Linked DNA regions of Homo sapiens: region 2 is linked to region 1. Evidence: promoter capture Hi-C in 16 types of primary human blood cells and fetal thymus (Javierre and others, 2016). All regions are on one chromosome and are shown on one strand. Each heading gives the region's core, a stretch centred on a gene start or on the middle of the fragment in contact. The rest is flanking DNA. Distances are from core to core; before and after follow the strand shown.

What was found. The method cuts DNA at HindIII sites, captures the fragments that hold promoters and counts their contacts. A CHiCAGO score of 5 or more calls a contact.
Region 2: a fragment that was not itself captured here is called in contact with the fragment with the promoter of PSMB1 in region 1 in 6 of 17 cell types (M0 macrophages, total CD4 T cells, M1 macrophages and 3 more); the score reaches 11.7 in M0 macrophages.

What each region holds. Positions count from the first base shown.
Region 1 is chr6:170,549,973-170,556,326 of GRCh38, reverse strand. PSMB1 (proteasome 20S subunit beta 1) reads left to right here and starts at 3,020. Exons shown (of 6, transcript NM_002793.4): 1 at 3,020-3,197. The coding sequence starts at 3,085. It overlaps TBP (TATA-box binding protein), which reads right to left and starts at 1,958. Exons shown (of 8, transcript NM_003194.5): 1 at 1,864-1,958. RefSeq lists enhancers at 1,688-2,077, 2,888-3,267. The HindIII fragment of the contact is 7,721 bases long and covers 833-6,354 here.
Region 2 is chr6:168,953,346-168,959,699 of GRCh38, reverse strand. It overlaps LOC105378146 (a long non-coding RNA gene), which reads left to right. Exons shown (of 4, transcript NR_136250.1): 2 at 1,841-1,960. Among named protein-coding and RNA genes, the nearest start is that of LINC01615, 210 kb to the left of the region's middle. The HindIII fragment of the contact is 851 bases long and covers 2,599-3,449 here.

The sequences.
Region 1 (6,354 bases), core at 1,771-4,270:
ATAACCTTACCTCTTTAGAACACATTAATGCAAACTGTGCCTGTTATCTGACTTTTCTTAAATCATCATCGCTTTACTCACTACACATCTGAAATGAGTTTATAACAACATATTCTCACATAGAACTTAGAGGTCTCAAAGTTACAAATTATATGTCCAAAGATCCTTCAGGCATATGCACTTCAAGCATGTGCTGGTACAGAACAGACACTCAGATATTTGCTGAATGTATGAAAGACTCTGACGATCACTTTGAAAGGGCAAAGGCCCCCAAAGACTATCTATCCTACATACTCATCACTGAAAAACAGACCAAAAAAGAAAGCAAGCTCTGCTTCTGGAAATAAATATATCAGAGATATTTTTTAAAATATACTTTTTTTTTGACAGTTATCCTATAATAACAATAACAGAAGTCCTGCAGATGAGGATATAAAGATAGGAGGATATAGTCCTTGGCATCAAAGTGTTCAATATGAAGGGTATGCAAATAACTACTGTAAAACATAGTATTATAACAGCAGGTATGGTCTAAGCTAAGTTCCTTGAATGCAGAAACCAGCCTACATGTCTTTGTGATCTCTGCATCTAGCACTATGCCTGGAATACAGTATGTGATCATGAATGAGCCCATATACACCCCTGGAAGAGAAGACAATATAGACTAACAGCCAATCACTGTGAAGAGAGCGCAGTGTTTTCACAAAGCAGGGACCATCTAACTTGGGTCTCACAAGGTGAGTAGGAATTTACACATCAGGGCTTCAGACAAAAGAGAAATCAAGCAGAAAGAGACAGATTGAAAAAGCATGCAGTATGCAGGCAACAAGCTTAGTATGACTGTATAGAAGGTCACTGCAGCAGATGAGACAGCACATATTGGTGGGCTCATACTATCAGGAGTTTTCAATGTTATTGCATAGGCAATAATAACAGTTATGGAATTTCGGAAGTGCAGTATGAACAGATCTAATTTGGCAAGACTAGATGAATTTGAGAGGAGTAAAACTGGAGGACGGAAGTTTCGTTTCAGGAATCTAAGGTTGAGGCAAGAGATAATGACGGCAGGATTTAAAGCCATTATAAGTATGATTAGAGATTTATCCAGGACCTTCGGTGGCTTCAGGCCACTTTTTGCAAGTAAGTCTACAGAAGAAACCGCACAGTGATTACTGCACTAATTTATCCTCAGAAAAGAGTTGTTTGCTGGGTATCTTCATCTCCTGGAAATTGAAACATCAAATCCGATATTTTTTGGAGGCAATCAAATTAATTCTGCATAGCCTTCTAGTGTCTGTATAACTAAATGAAGCACAGTCTTTTCACAGAAAAGTCTACCTAGAGATTTGGAAAACCATGATGGCCTGAACCGAGAGACGGGAGACCCTGCAAATAAAGTGGTGTGTATTATATCTTAAGCGCTACCGTGCCCGCTGTCTCAGGCTTCTGACAAAATATTTAAGTCTCAATGTTGGCAGCAAAACAGGCGGGCACAGATCTGGGTGAATCTGCTTCTAACATGGAGAAGAAGCGGATGGCAGGACAGGGCAGGGTAAACTTAGGGTCTTCGATGCAAGGGACTGTCCTGTCCCGCCTGCCGCCGCCCAGCCAGCCAGTAGTACCCTGAGCCCCACAATCGTACGATGGGAAGCTGCCTGCGAAACACAGCAGAGTAGGGCACCAGGCGGGAGTGGCGGCCGAGTGGCCGTTACAGGCCGGAACGGCGGCAGCACGAAAGGGAGGAACGTCCCCCGAGGGGCCTGCACGCGCGCCAATTCCTAGTCTCTTCCCCACCATTGCCCCCAGGCCTCAGTGCAGTGGTGGCCTTCGCCCGAACCGTCAGAAAAGAGTACAATCTGTTACCTGGGTCACTGCAAAGATCACTATGGGCCAGCGGAAGCGAAGTTAAACAGCCGGCGGCCCAGGCGCCCGCCACAGCGAACCTGCCCGACCTCACTGAACCCCTGGCGCGCGTTGATAATGTCACTTCCGCCAGTTCTGCCCTCGGCTTCAGCGAGTTGCTCCCACTAGGGCCGAGGCCATGAGAAGTGTGAGCATAGGTCACTTCCTGTGTTTCCATAGGTAAGGAGGGGCGAAGCTCTTGAGGAGTTCCGGGGCGGGGCCGCCGTGCCACAGCCATCTCTAATTGGCCCTTGCTGGACGTAGGAAAGATCGATTTTTAAATGGCGTGTGTGTGTATATGTGTGAGTGTGTTTTGTTGTTGTTGTTGTTGTTGTTTAAAGCAACTAGCGGCGTTACCTTCGACAAGTTACCTGACCTCTCCCCCGCATTTTTTTTCTGTAAAATTGAATAATGATAACAGTGCTTACCCTTGGGCTGTCGGGAGATTGACAGAGATTGACAGAATCAGTGCCTGAGCAGTGCTTGGCACTCAGTAAGCGCGTCCTCCTTACCTGTCAGCAAGAACGCTAGCTGATCTTCAAGCGTGTAGAATGACAAGGAACACTAAGCAAAACAAACAGCTTGTGTTTACACATGCATTTATATTCAGTTCTGCCACTCCCAGTTCATGCACTGTTGTCACATGGCTCTTTCCGCAGTTGTTTCTTAGTGGGACTTCAGCACGCCTTGATTTTCCCTTCTGTAGTTCATTGTGGCGTAATCATATGTTATACTGCTTGTTTTCTTTGTACTTTTTATTATCAGTGAGGTTGTGAGCTCTTTAAGGATAGGAAATGTTATATACATTTTTTATTAGCCAGGACAATTAACGTTCCCACCGTTATTCGAGTTGCCGTTGCGCCATAGTTCTGACAATTTTTTTGTATGGTCAGACTTAAATTTTTGTCCATTGGGGTGAATTCCAATGTTTTCTTCGAGGGGGAAAAAAACAAAAAACAAACAAAAAAAACCCTTTACATCCCTGTCAGCGCTTTTTGGAATGGGCGGGATTCAACTACCAAAGGGACAAGCCGCCGTGCAGCCCTCCAGGAGCAACGACTAGCGTGAGATAGAGAGGCCGGGAGCGAACTTCAGGAGAAGCCGGAAGTGGCGTAACGTCCGGTCAAGGCAGCCATCTCGCCGTGAGACAGCAAGTGTCGGATCCGCAGGCGCAGCCGTGCGATGTTGTCCTCTACAGCCATGTATTCGGCTCCTGGCAGAGACTTGGGGATGGAACCGCACAGAGCCGCGGGCCCTTTGCAGCTGCGATTTTCGCCCTACGTTTTCAACGGAGGGTAAAAACCCCAGAGAGCTGCGGCTTTCACTTTCGCCCTTCCCCCATCTGCTGAAGCCTATTTAGGAGTCACCGCCGTGATGGCGCTGCCCCGGGCTCCTGCAGGCCTCAGAACCCTGAGCTGAGGGGGTCCGCACAAGGCCGGTCTCCCTGCCGTCCTCTCATGCCCTGTGTTTCCCTCTTCAGGCTCGCTTTGCTCAAGTTTACTTGGTGATTGCGATACAGCCTTGGTTTTTAGGGTTTCCCATTACAGTCATGTCATTTGAGTTTTTATGTGGACCGCCACTCCGTGCTCCTTGCTGCTGTAAGACAGTAAAGTAGAAATTGAAACATAGCCTCTGCTCTGTGGAAGACCATTAAAACTGGACCTCATGTACACGTTTCTTATGCCAGCCGGCGAGGGTAGAGGGTTAGCGTCTGAAACTTAAAAGTTAGGGTTGTTTGGTCTGTGTTGTTAGATGCATAGCTGGGTTGGTAGCCGAGATGTCTAATTGTAGCCGCCTGATTTCTGTTATTTCTAATTGTAGCAGTTTAATCATTTTGTTTTATTTCAAATAGAAGGTGGGATTGGCTGAGCAAACTTAGTTTCATAGATAAGTGCTTTTTTTTTTTAACGTTTAGCTTAAGTTCAGGAAAACAAAATACTCAGAAGATGGACCTTTTAGTATGTGTGTTCTTGTATGTTATGTTCAAGTTTTGGTTTTTATTTTAATTACCAGCTTTATCTTGAGTAGTATAATTTTCCGTGGTGGCACGCCAGAGATTTAGGGTTATAGAAAGATGCTCTGTTTAAGACTCTTGACAGGGAAGAGCTGTAAATTGAAACAGTGGTTATAGTTACCAATCAAGCCTTGTACATTAAAATATACACACGCAATTTGAACGAACCGATGGTTCTTAAAACAGAAAATATTGGCTGGGCAGTGTGGCTCGCACCTGTAATCCCAGGACTTTGGGAAGCCAAGGCAGGAGGATCATCGCTTGAGGCCAGGAGTTGAAGACCAGCCTGCGCAGCATAGCAAGACCCCATCTCTACAAAAATAAATTTTAAAAACAAAGCAAAAATGTTAATTGGTTCCTCATAAATTTGAAATATAAATGCACATTTTGGGAGTGTGTTAGAAAGATAACGAAAGTCTGATTTTAGCCTTGGTTCTGCCACTAAAGGACACTTTGGGTACTTCTGAACTTCTTGAACCTAAATTTCCTTATCTTCCTTAGTAGCTTCATAGTTTTTGGTGAGAATCAAGAGAGATGCATTTTGTAAATTGCAAGCTGTCATCTTATTTAATCCTCATGAAAAGTGAATGTTAGATGATATTAGCATCCTAGGGTTATATTAGACGTTAAACTGTCAGGGTCAGAGAGCTGGTGTGAAGTTGAGCCAGGACTTAATTCATAGCTATTTCACCACTGAGTTTATGGATGCTTTTCCATTATACACCTTAACACTTCCTGTGATGACTAATTAAGTTGTATATTGTAGGGAGGGTTATTGGACCCGTTTCGTAAGGCTATTCTCTATAAATAAGAATTTTCAGTGTTCAGTATGCCCTACTCGTTACTCACTTTTTAATCCCTTGTAATCCAGTTTAAGCCATTACTGCCCTAAAAATTACTTAGATCTTTCTGATTACTTTTTCTCAGTCATTGTTCTTTTTCTTTAGTGTTTACTGCAGCTGGCTCTCAGGCAGCCTTCGCTTCCGCAAAATGAGGCCTCATTCTCTTTTCCTACTCTGTCTTTAAATGTAGTTAAGTCATTAGCCGCCTTGTTTATCGCTCAGCACTCTTTCATGTCTCATTGCTGGGAGGATTACTCCCAAATCTGGTTTTCCAGTTCTGCCTCTCATGAGTCCCTCGATTCGGCTTCTTCAGTAAAACATTTTTAACTGGTTTTTCTGCTCTCAGGGCAACTCAAGACAGCTAGCAAAACAAAAAGCAAGCTAATTATTCCCCTTCATCTCCTCTTCTCCTTTCTTCTTATTTTTTGAGACAGAGTCTCACTCTGTCACCCAGGCCGGAGTGCAGCGGTGCGATCTCAGCTCACTGCAACCTCCAACTCCTGGGTTCACGCATTTCTGCCTCAGCCTCCCGAGTAGCTGGGATTACAGGTGCCTGCCACCACGCCTGGCTAATTTTTGTATTTTTAGTAGAGATGGGTTTCACCATGTTGGCCAGGCTGGTCTCGAACTCCTGATCTCAGGCAATTGACCCCCCCCCCCCCCCTCAGCCTCCCAAAGTGTTGGGATTACAGGTGTGAGCCACCGTGCCCGGCCTCCTCTCCTTTAAAATACTTATAATTATGCCATCATTCTGTTCATCTAAGTTCTAAATCTTGGATGTCATAATTGGTTTTCCCAGTTCCTAAAACATTTGCGTAGATATAAAAATTTGTCTATTTTGTGTGTTTGTGATGATTTTGGATTTACTGTTCACCCTGCTACCTTACTATTGCATTAGTAGTATTAGAACAGTGTTTCTGTCCCATTTCACATACTATGTTATTGTCAGAGCAGTCTTCCTAAAACCCCACTTTGTAAATGGAACTTTTCTCTCTCTTGCATTCCTTTTTTAAAGACCAGGTCTCACTCTAATGCCCAGGCACGATCATAGCTCACTGCAGCCTTGAACACCTGGGCTCAAGCAGTCCTCCCACCTCAGCCTCTTGAGTAGTTACAACTACAGATCATTCTTGCTCAGAATACCTTCATGATTTCTTGCTAAAATTCCAAAATCTTTAGCTTGGCATTTGGGATTTTCTACAGTAGGAACCCTGTCCATCACATAAACCTTAACGTCACTACATGTGCTTATGCAAAAAGGGCTGCCTGAATGAGTTGCTTGAATGTATGTACTATTTGAATAATTACCTGTTTGCCATTGCTTGCTGTTTATATTACCTGGAATGCCATCCTTTTCTTCTTGAGAGCTTTAGCACAAATCCCTCCTCAGTAAAAATAGTGGCTTAAGTTTCCTGAGTGCTTACGTCTGTGAGGCACCATGCCTTTAATTTCCACTATTGCATTGAAGCAGTGGTTATAGTTATCAGTCAAGCCTTGTACATTAAAATATACACACCCAAATATATATACACACCTTGTGACACAGGTACTGTTATCATCAACTTGCATTTGGAGGATTTGTCCAAGATCACATAC
Region 2 (6,354 bases), core at 1,775-4,274, 1.6 Mb after region 1:
CTAGTTAATACACTTCCATGGGGATTTGCATTTTATATGTGTTTAAGTTACTCTTCTGAATTTTTTTTTTTCCAGTTCTTATCAATGCTTCACAAGGTTGGAATTCCAGCTGTTAAACTTACTATAGGCCAGGTGCAGTGGCTCACGCCTGTAATACCAGCACTTTGGGAGGCCAAGGCGGTCAGATCACTTGAGGCCAGGAGTTTGAGACAAGCTTGAGCAACATGGCAAAACCCTATCTACACTAAAAATACGAAAAAATAATTAGCTAGGTGTGCTGGCATGTGCTTGTAGTCCCAGCTACTTGGGAGGCTGAGGCAGGAGAACCACTTGAACCCAGGAAGTAGAGGCTGTAGTGAGCTGAGATCACGCCAGTGCACTCCAGCCTGGGCAACAGGAATGAAACCCTGTTTGAAGAAAACAAAACAAACAAAATCCAAAAAACTTACTATGTAGCCTTGGGCAAAGTGACTTTTCAAAGCCTTGTATTCTTTATTCTCAAATAATACAACCAGCACCTCCCCCATTACACACATACACCGGTGTACACACACACACAGACACACACAACCAGCACATAATTCTTTTTTGCAAAGACTTCTTAGAAAGATAAAAAAGAGATAAGTACTAGTTTTTCATACATATGTATGCTATGAGAACCAGTCAATAAAATAAAACAACAAATAATATACATTGTAGCTTCTTAAGAATCTTCAGCTTTTAAAGTCCCAAGTCTTTCCAGGGCTCCCAGAGCCCCAGTGACTCCTCACCAACAGAGATGGGATCCCGGAAGAGCCGGGATCATGATTGGAGGGAGAAAGATACGGAGACCCCAGTCTGTGCCAGAAGAATTTCCTGAATTAACGTTTTTATCAGGATGAAGTGTGGATTATCAAGTTTGTTAGAATAAATGGTAGGTTTCGGTGATTCTTTTAAGATGAAAATTGATTAGGATTGGGTAAAGCCTGTGGTGTGATCTTGTAAGGTTTGTGGACAGAAGACAAGAGTTTCGAAGTGAGCCTTCACAAGAACATTGCTACTTGGTAAATGAACTTTTTGCTCAGATTAGCAACATGTTGTCCTGATAGAGAGAAGTTTGCACAGATAAACAAACTGTCTTGATAAACTGAGTTATAGGAATGCCTTGAAACAAATATTAGAGTTTCATGCAAAATGTCACTTCATGTTTGAGTAAAATTACACAGAAAACCAACGTATATGTCACAAGACACTGATACCAAGAGTCTGGCTATCGCACAGAGACAGTGAGACCAAGCCTAGGAGTGATTCTGATTGTCAGAATGAGCCCCATTGTGAGAATATCAAACCAGAAATTAGACTCATGACAAGAAGCCACTAGGGATGAGCTAGTGGCTCATAATAGTAGGGGGAGGAACATTATAGACACCATTGCTGAGAGGCAGCAGGTGCCTGTTAACAGAAAAGAACCATACGTAGGCAACATGCCAAGAAAATGCCCAGGAAAACAGGGAAGGAAAGCCCCCAGATTCGAGGATGACACTCTAGAGCCAGTCATCTGGCACACTTGCAGTGGGTATTGGCGGAAACTTCACTTCTCACAATTTTCTCTTTCTTTTGAAATAAGTTGTCTTCATCTGCGTAATTTGGGTTCTCCAGAACATCATCTGCTCTGGTACATTCCTGACTATCTTTGCTGTAAATGTTTCTGACGGGACAGGGGACCAGGTGTTGTACCTGGGTGACATAACTCTCAGGTTAATTGTGGACTAGTGGCCAAAAGCAAAGTATGGTCTTCCTTCCATGTGAATCTAGGGCATGTTTTTTCTTTTCATCTTTTCTTATAAGACAACATTTCCAGGTCTTAGGTCTAGTGGAAGCTGCTTCGGAGCCATGGAGAAAAGGCAGCCTGCGCTGATTGACCATGAGCCTAAGTACACTGCATGAACCTTTGGAAGTACCTCTTCTATGTCTGCCTGAAGTAAGATAAAGTTGAAATTTTGGGGTAAATACTTTGCATAATGGCGAACCTGTGATAGTTTCACATGGTGAGAGTTTATAGGGCTCTCAGGGAGTGTGGACTCATGAGACTAGTGTGACATCTTTACCAGGGAAGCTACGCCAGATGCTTTGGATGGCTTTAGCTCTGTGGTGCCACTGGATGCCTCAAGGTTCTGAGCAGGCAGAAGGCTTCTTTCAGAGCTCTTCAGTGACAACTCCAGCAAAACTAGAACAATGAATTCATTCTTTACATTGGGAGCCAGCATAATTATGCTTATTTATATGTTTGCTTTCTCTACCATACAGTCCATAAATCTCCAACCAGTAAAACTCCAAGTAAATTCTGAGAAAAATTAAACAATGACCAGGACACAGTCAAAACTCATTATACAGTGTAGTCATATGAAATTCAAAAAGGGGCCCAGGTTCTGTGTGTAGAGGCTCGGGCTCCTGTGCTTTTTCCATTTTTCAGTTTTATCGGTGTCATGCTGTTGACCTGTAGACGTGCTCCAGGGTTGTGTTCAGCAAGTGTGGCAGTGTCCTCACTGGTATTGATTGAGTGCAGTGGCTGAGCCTTCTTTGCTGTCTGGGTAAATTATGTAAAATCATGTGCAAGCTTCTATTGGAGGTCCTCTGGCACCACCAAGTGGCTGGCCTGACAGCTCCCAGCCTGCCCGGCTGAGTTCCCCACCAGATTCACACTTCTCTTCTCTGATTCTGGAGCAACATTTCTGAGTTGTGTCATCATTTGTAATCAGTTAGATTCATTTGTCACAGTCATCCTTCTAGTTTGAGATTTCCTCAAATCCTAGTTGAGTTTTTATTTACTTTGCATACGATAAATTTGACTTTTTAGCTTTTCCATGTCTTTCCACAACACAGAAATGCAGTCAAAAATCTTCCACCCACTACCACACAGAACAGTTCCATCACTCATCAACCCATCCCCAAACCCTTAGAAGCCCTGCCCCCTTTTCCGTTCCTACATTTTTGCCTCCTCCAGGATGTTATATAAGTGGAACATGTAATATGCAGCCTTTGGGTGCTGCCTTTTTCACTTACCAAAATGCAGTTAAGATTCATCTACATCCTGTGAGTCGGTTACTCACTCCTTTCACTGTTGAGTAGCCTTACGTCGTGTGAACACACCACAGTCTGTTTCTCCACTCGTGTTGAAGGACAACTTGGTTGTTTCCAGTTTGAGGTGTTATGAATAAAACTGTTATAGACATCTGCAAATTGTTTTTTGTGTGAACACAGTTTTCCATTCACTTAGATAAACATCTAGGACAGGACTTTGTGGGCCATGAGATGATTGTATGTTTATCTTTATAAGAAATGGGCAATCTGTGATCCAGGGGGTGTGGACGTCCAAGTAGAATACTACTTTTGTATTCCCACCAGCAATGGGAATTCTTGTGGTTTCACATGCCTATCGACATTTGGTGTTGTCAATTTTATTTTAAGCTTTAACTTTAGTAGTACTTGAGGGTAATAGGGAGAGAGAGAAAAAATTCTGGATATAAGTACTTTATCAAATATGAAATTTGCAAGTAATAGCTCCAAGTCTGTGGCTTGCTTTTTTACCATATTTACAGGTCGTTTGCAAAGCAAACACTTTAAATTTTGTTAAAGTCAAATTTTAAAAATTCTTCTTTCATTGAGCATGCTTTTGGTACTGTATCTTAAAACTCACCACCAAAACCAAAGCCATGCAGCTTTTCTGTTATGTTTTTTTTCTAGAAGTTGTATGGTTTTGCATTTTACATTCAAATCTATAATCCACTATGAATTAATGTTTGTATATGGAAAAGGTATATATTGGTCCTATTTGGGACATTTGCATATCAAATGTTCCAACACAATTAACTGAAAGGATTCTCTTTCTTTCCTAACATGACTTGTACCTATGCCAAAAGTCACTTGTCAATATATGTCTGAGTCAATTTCTCTATTCTTACTTTTGTTCCATTGATTGCCTATCCCAGTGCCAATGCCACATTTTATTGTTTACTGTCACGTTATAGTGTCTTAAAATCAAGTTATGTGAGTACTTTACTTTTGTTGTTTTGTTCATTTTCCAGAATTTTGTTTTGTTTTTCTTGCAGAATTTTTGTGATTATTATAGTTTCTTTGCCTTTCTACATGAATTTTGATTCAGCTTGTTGTTATTTACAAAGTAGACTTGCTGGAATTTTATTGAGATTGCATTGCTCAAATCAGGGAAAATGGGAGAATGGACATCTTTGAAATATTAAGCCTCAAATCCATGAAACTGCATATTTCTTCATTTACTTAGATATTTCTTCCTTCTTTCATCAGTGTTTTGTAGTTTTCAGCATACAGACGCTGCACCTATTTTGTTATATTTATACCTAATGCTTCATTTATTTTAGTACGATTTAGTGCCTTTTAAATAGTATTGTGTATATTTGAGGTTTACAACATGATGCTATGAAATATAGATGGTAAAATGGTTACAGTGGTGAAACAGATTAACATATCTATTATCTCACATATTTTTTGTGACAAAGGCAGCTAAAATCTACTTATTTAACAAAAATCCTTAACATGGTATAATTTTATGAAGTTTGGCCCTCACGTTGTGCATCCAGTCTCCGGAACTGTTGTCCCACCTACCTTCTATGATATTTTGATCCCTTTGACCTACATCCCCCCATGTCCTCTTGCAACCCCCACCCATGGAAACACTGTTACACACTCTGTCTCTGTGTGTTTGAGGGTTTTTAAAAAAATATCTCACATATAAGTGAGATCATTCAATTGTTTTCTTTCTGTGTCTGGGTTATTTCACATAGAATCATGTCCTCCAGGCCCAGCCATGTTGTGCAAATGACATTTTTTTTAAAATTCAAATTCCAAATGTTCATTATTACAGGTAGAAACATTTTTAATTTTCATGTAAGTTGTTTCCTTTTGGGCATAGAGATGTTTGTAATATTACTGATTTTAGGTGTTTCCTGATTTCTATTACAAGCACTTAGTACTCTACATTTCCCTCAAAGCACTGCTTAGCTGCATCCTGATAATTTTGATATATTGTATTTTAATTTTTGATTCAAAATATTTTTAGTTTAGTGTAAGACTTCAGTTTTGACCCATCATTCATTTAGAAGTGTGTTGTTTATTTGCCATATATTCAGAGATTTTCCAGATATATTTTTGTTTATTTTCAGTTAATTTCATTATGGTTTCAGAACATACTTTGCTTGTTTTCTACTCTTTTTTCATGTTTAAGGTTTAGTCTATGGCACAGACTATCAGCTATCTTGGGAAATATTTCAATTTAAAGATATACTTTGCTGCTGTCTGGAGGAATTTTCTATAAATGCCAATAATAATTAGTTAATAGCATTTATGGAATAAAAATAGGACATAAGATTAGTGATCTTCTGTTTGGCAAAGTTTTCTTAAAGAGGACACAAGAAATTATACATTATAAATTTAAAAAAATGAAAATTATAATCTTTTATTCTTCAAAAGACATCATTAAAATTATTTAATAGACTGAAAGGAAGTATTTGCAAAATAAATATCTGAAAAAGAGCTTTTGTTCTGAATATATAAATAATTTATAACACAATGGTAAGAAAACAAACAACTCAGTACATTTGTGGACTGAGTTGGACAAATATTTTAATGGATATTTCAACAACAACAACAACAAGAAGAAAAGATGCACAAATGGCAAATCAGCAACGGAAAAGATGCTCAACAGTACTAGTCTTTAGGGAAAAGGAGGTTAAAACCATAAGAGCAATACCATTGCACTCGTGTGAGAATATCTAATATTTAAAAGTATGACCATAGCAAACGCTGGTGAGGATGCAGAGCAATTTCAACTCTTATACACTTCGGCTGAGAATGTAAACCGTTTTGGAAAACAGTGTGGTCAATTTATAAAACATTAAACATTCACCTACCATATGACTCAGATATTCTACTCCTAGAATTAATACATTTGAGACCCAAATTTTTGGATACAAATGCTCATATCATTTTTTATTTTTAATATAAAAATAATATATTAAATAATATATTAAATATATATATTAAATAATATAGAAAATAATATAAATGTCTATTAGCAGGTAAATGGGTAGATAAATTGTGCTGTGCTCATGCAACGGGCAACGACTCAGCCATAAAAAGGAACAAACTACTGGGGGACGCAATGAGTGGACGATGCACCCAAAATTGTCAGGTGAAATTAAAGCAGCCAGGTTAAAAGTAAGAAAGAGCATGCACTGCAAGACTCCATTTACATGAAATTCTGGAAAATGAAAACCATTTTACAGTGGCAGAAATCAAACTGACAGTTGCCTCAGGACAGGAACAGAGGGAGGAATGGAC